2 separate regions of the Homo sapiens genome follow, and region 2 is linked to region 1. The links are contacts of gene promoters, found by promoter capture Hi-C in blood cells and fetal thymus (Javierre and others, 2016). All regions are on one chromosome and are shown on one strand. Each heading gives the region's core, a stretch centred on a gene start or on the middle of the fragment in contact. The rest is flanking DNA. Distances are from core to core; before and after follow the strand shown. Region 1 holds the start of SDR9C7 (short chain dehydrogenase/reductase family 9C member 7). Region 2 overlaps LOC124902945 (a long non-coding RNA gene).

Region 1 (2,700 bases), core at 57-2,556:
CCATTTCCCACCTCCATCCCCTATAAGCTTTAGGTCTGCTCTTTGGGGGTGGGTTCATAATCTGGCCCCCTCCCCTACTTTGTTAAGGAACGGCCAAACCCTGCGGGGCTTTCCCAGGGTGACACCTGCTTTATGTGATTCCACGCTGGTCAGACTTGGCAAATGGTGGATCACAGAGATACATCCTTTGTCCCTTCACACTAGAGAACTTTGTGGTCCCATTTCTGTGTCAGACTCGCTAAGCCATGAAGGTGTGAGCTAGGACCAGGCTCATCCCAAGGAATGGTGACCCTAGATGTTGATCCAAAGAACCACAGAGGCTCCAGCATCATTCCCTGCATCTTATGCAATTCTGGGTGTGGCCCCTCACTACTCACACCTCTGGTTTCCTTATTTCCTTTCCTTTACCACCTTACCTCTTAGCTTTCTGTAAATTATTTGCTAAATTGCCTAGAATCTCTGTTTCTCCTCCAAGTCCCGACCCTGAGAATTTTCTATGTCTCTGGCCCCAGTTCTCTGCTCCTCCTATATCTCATCCCCTCTTACAGTCAAGGCCTCTGCCCAGACAATTCCCTCAGCTGCCCAGTGAACTCATGATCCCTCCTCATCATCTTGCCCAGGGCTGCTTACTGGTGACCTGAGTATGACCCCCACAGGGTGTCAGGCCTGAGTCCCCCAGGTCTTTCTGCTTTCTGGTGGCTAAGCTTCACATGCCAGCCTCCCCTATAGGAGGGCCCTGCTGCCTCTAGCCTCAGGACAATGGAGGTACATCCACCCTAGGAGAAATCCATTGCTTTTCATCCTCTCTCATGATGGAGACTTACCTAAGAATTCCAGAGAGCTGATGACCTGCGACTTGTTTCTCTTGGGGTTTGGAAGGTACAGAACCAATGTTGTTTGTTTTACATTAATAAATTTGTCTTGAGTATTTTCCCTGAAAATAAACTTATTTACATACCTGCACTCACGACAAATGATTTTGATCCCTGGAGACCAAAATCCCCAGGCTGGGTTGGGGGCAGGGTGGGGACAGGATTTCTAGGGGAGCTGTCTGGGGTGAGTCCTCATCTTTCATTTGCCTGCCTTACACCGCCTGGGTGAGCCACCACTCATCACCAACATTACAAGTGGATTATTTCCAATTCTTGGCAGCTTTACCCATCAGGGCAGGGGGAGAGAGGGAGGCAGCTACCAGGGCTGTCAGAGGTGACAAGGCTTCAGGTTGGACTTGAATTTCTTGCATCTGGGCTAATTGCTGTGGTGATGCATCCACCTATAAAAATTACAGCGTGGCTCACCCAGGGACCTAGATTTGTTGCAAGCTGTGGGAGGAAGGAGAGTTCTTCTTCCAGGTGGTTTCCTGCAGACTGCCTGCTAGGGCTCAGAGGACCAGCTTCTTCCCTGCTGTCTCCTGAGCCCAGTCCCTCTTGGCCATCACATTCCCCTTGCCCTATGGCGGCCCTCACAGACCTCTCATTTATGTATCGCTGGTTCAAGAACTGCAATCTGGTTGGCAACCTCTCAGAGAAGTACGTCTTCATCACAGGCTGTGACTCTGGCTTCGGGAACCTGCTGGCCAAACAGCTGGTTGATCGGGGCATGCAGGTGCTGGCTGCTTGCTTCACTGAGGAGGGATCCCAGAAACTTCAGCGGGATACCTCCTATCGGCTGCAGACCACCCTACTGGATGTCACCAAGAGCGAAAGCATCAAGGCGGCGGCCCAGTGGGTGAGGGACAAAGTGGGCGAACAAGGTGGGGCGAATTACATTCTTTGGCTTTCTTGGTTTCTCCTTCTTCCTCTTCCTCTCTCCCGAAGCATCTGACAGTATCAGAGACCCTGATGTCCAGATTGGGTGGGAGGGGTGATGTAGGGAAAGGCCCCTGCCTCAATCTGATTGGAAGCCACTGCATGGTTTGGCCTGTTCACATGAAGGGGTGATTTCCCAAGGAAGTTTTCTGTCCTGGAAACTCAGAGAAACGGGAAAGAGGTCTCAATAGGAAGCGAGGGGGGAAGATGTGTTCTGTGTGTCCAAACCTCTAAAAATGGACGTGCCTGGCTGGGCGTGGTGGCTCACGCCTATGAGCCCAGCACTTTGGAAGGCCGAAGTGGGAGGATCATGAGGTCAAGAGATCGAGACCATCCCGGCCAACATGGTGAAACCCCATCTCTACTAAAAAGTATAAAAATTACCTGGGTGTGGTGGCACGTGCCTGTAGTCCCAGCTACTCAGGAGGCTGAGGCAGGAGAATCACTTGAACCCGGGAGGCGGAGGTTGCAGTGAGCCAAGATTGCGCCACTGCACTCCAGCCTCGTGACAGAGCAAGAATCCCTCTCAAAAAGAAAAAAAAGAAAAAAAAAGGATGTGCCTCTCTGATGTTTCAGCAGTCCTAACCATCAGCTCCTGGGGAAATACAAACACATTTCTTGTTGGGATCAGGATGGGGGAGGGGGAATGAGACAGGAGGCTGGATCCCATGAGTGGGTGCAGTTTGTCTCCTTGACTATGTCAGGCAGGGGAGAAAGAGATCTGGTCTCTTCTTGACATCATGGTGGGTGTTGATTTGACTTCAGGGCAAGTATGTATGTCACAGTGGCTGCTCCTATTGGGAAAGGAAGCTGTGGACTGGGGCTGGCCCAGGACTGTGTGGGGACCTGCCTCATGCACTTCCAGCACACAGGGTGTGGGCCCAGGAACAGG
Region 2 (2,700 bases), core at 180-2,679, 54 kb before region 1:
GTTCTCTGTGCTCCACATTCTTGCCAACATCTGTTTTTTTTTTTATCTTTTTAATAATAGCCATTCTGACTGGGGTACGATGATATCGCGTCATGGTTTTTATTTGCATTCCTCTGATGATTAGTGATGTTGAGCATTTTTTCATATATCTGTTGGCCATTTGAAAAATGTCTTTTGAAAAATGTCTTCTTTTGAAAAATGTCTATTCATGTCATTTGCCCACATTTTAGTGGGATTATTTGTGGGGTTTTTTTTTTTCTTGCTCGAGTTCTTTGTATATTTTGGATATCTCCCCTGTCAGATGAATAGTTTACAAATATTTTCTCCAGTTCTGCGGGTTGTTCATTCTGTTGCTTATTTCTTTTGTTGTGCAGAGCTTTTTAGTTTAGTTAAGTCCCAGTTGTTTATTTTTGTTTTTGTTGCCTGTGCTTCTGAGATCTTAGTCATAAATTCTTTGCCTAGTCCAATGTCCAGGAGACTTTTCCTTATACTAGATAGTAGATTTTTCCTGCAATACTAGATTTTCTTCTAATAATTTAATAATAGTTTTGGGTCTTATATGTAAGTCTTTAATCCATCTTGAGTTGATTTTTGTGTCTGGTGAGAGATAGGAGTTTAATGTCAGTTTCTTAATATGTAAAGTGAGGATAATGATGCTTCCCTTACAGGTTATTATATGGGATACATGAGATAATATATACAAGCATGCTCCTTTTCCACTTCATGGGGATAAGGAAAAAGGAATCCCATCTTGTGGAATTGACACTGAGAGACCTCTCTAGTCCTATTACCACCAGCCATTTTTTTCCTCTCTGAATTAGATCAACATGAGCCTCCTCTTTTATTTGGCTGTCTTGGGTTGTGTTTTTTACATAGAAGGGTGGGAACATTCCCAAATGTCACTATGAATTACCACAGAGAAATGTAGTAATAGTAACAGCTGATGTTTATTGAATACGCACCATTGGCTAGACACAGTTGTAAGGGGCTTTATCCATATCACCTCATTTAATCCTCATAACAACTTCATGGAGTGGGTACTACCATCGACAAGGAAACTGAAGCACAGAAACTTTAAATAACTTGCCCCAGTCACACAGCTAGTAGGTCAATAAGCCCATATTACAAGGATTCTTGAGCTGGATTCCATGCAGCTAATGGTTTTAGGTGTGAACTGTATGAAAAGTATAAGCAAGTTTTTGATTGTTGTGTTATGTGGGGGGCTTATAACCTTCCTTAGATTCTCGAAGGGGCCCATGATGTCCAAAAGCTTTAAAAAAAAATGACCCTTGGAGAGCTTCTGCTAGACTGGGGTCAGGATAAAAACAGCAATGTTGGGTATCCACTTGTGTGGAGCTGACTCAGCCCTGGGAATTCTAGGAAATTTCTTGCATGAGGAAGGAGGTGTCTCCTTCATGAAGGCTGAGGGATTTGTAGGATGATCTCGGAGGGATTTGAAAAGGGGAAAGTGAATGTCTTTGCTTCCCATTCCCTATCTTTCACTAGATGAAGGACAACTGTTTCCTCTGTGATTTCCCAAGTGTGAGAAGGGAGGGTGTGACATCAGTCTAAGGAAGAGGAAGCTTGAAAAGACTGATAAGAGACTGGAAGGGCCCCAGGTACTATTAATATCCCTCTGCCGCCTACAGCACTAGCAGCCTCCCCGCATGCCGCCACCCTTCCCCCTTCCTTTGGTCTCCTATCTCTCCCAGCTTCTGTTTCTCCCTCACTCTCCCATCTCCTGATCTGCACCCCTCCCCCAGCCTCTCTGTAGATGTGGTAAGTCTCTTGTTGGTTCCAGATTTCTTCCGTTTCTGTTAACTTTTGTTGAGCACCTAATGTATGCTGGTCAGAAATTCTCCAGTGCTTCCCAAGACCCCATCTTTCTAAGTTTTCACCATTTTAATAAAGGCATATGGATTCTTAGACTCCCTGAAATTGGAGATGGGAGGACTTGACAAAGTCATCTTGATTCTCCTCCCTCGTTATAAAGATGAGAAAAATGGAGGCTTTAGGAAATCTCATATTGTCGCATGATGTAAGAAATAGTGATGAAAATGGAAAGCGAAGCCAGATGTTGCAGTGTCAGCTACCTCAACATTCCTTCATCTCTGCTAGAAGCTAGCACTGCCGGGGCTGGAAATACAAAAATGACTGGACTCAGTCTCGGAGCCCTCAAGGGGCTCCGAGTCTGTCAAACCTCTAGTATGCAGCACACTCAAGGCACCATCCATGTTGCTTAATTAACAGTAGTCCAGTCTCTTACCAGCCAGCAGTCTTGCTGTTTCCCTCCTTCTTGGAGGATCCGTGCAGGGAGATATGGGGGCTCCCCGATGCTGGAGAGAGTGGCCATTGGGATGAGCTGAAGAGCCTTGGCTGATCCCAGGCCGATGCCCACGTCGTGACTGCAGGGCTAGAGAAGAACCACCAGGGGGCGCGCGGCTCTTTGCTAGCCTCTGGTTTCTGCAGGAAACCTCTCCTTCCCCCTCCCAGTCCATCTCCACTTCTTCCTTCAATTAGGGGACAGAAATTGGGCAAACATGGACAGTGGGAGAGAGGCCCAGTGCAAATAAACCCTGGATTATTCTGTCCCACACCTACTCCCCCAGCTCCCTGCCCCTCTACATCCTGCCCACCAGTTATGAAATAGTTTCCTCGACCTCACACCGAGGGACCCTCCATGGACAGCAGAGGTCCAGT

The links. Contacts are between HindIII fragments. The CHiCAGO score rates a contact against its expected background, and 5 or more counts as called.
Region 2: a contact is called between a fragment that was not itself captured here and the fragment with the promoter of SDR9C7 in region 1, in 5 of 17 cell types (M2 macrophages, M1 macrophages, megakaryocytes and 2 more). The highest score is 9.3, in M2 macrophages.

The regions. Positions count from the first base shown.
Region 1 is chr12:56,933,014-56,935,713 of GRCh38, reverse strand. SDR9C7 (short chain dehydrogenase/reductase family 9C member 7) reads left to right here and starts at 1,306. Exons shown (of 4, transcript NM_148897.3): 1 at 1,306-1,753. The coding sequence starts at 1,453. The HindIII fragment of the contact is 2,217 bases long and covers 707-2,700 here.
Region 2 is chr12:56,987,441-56,990,140 of GRCh38, reverse strand. All of the region lies in intron 2 of LOC124902945 (a long non-coding RNA gene), which reads left to right. Among named protein-coding and RNA genes, the nearest start is that of ACKR5, 5.7 kb to the left of the region's middle. The HindIII fragment of the contact is 313 bases long and covers 1,273-1,585 here.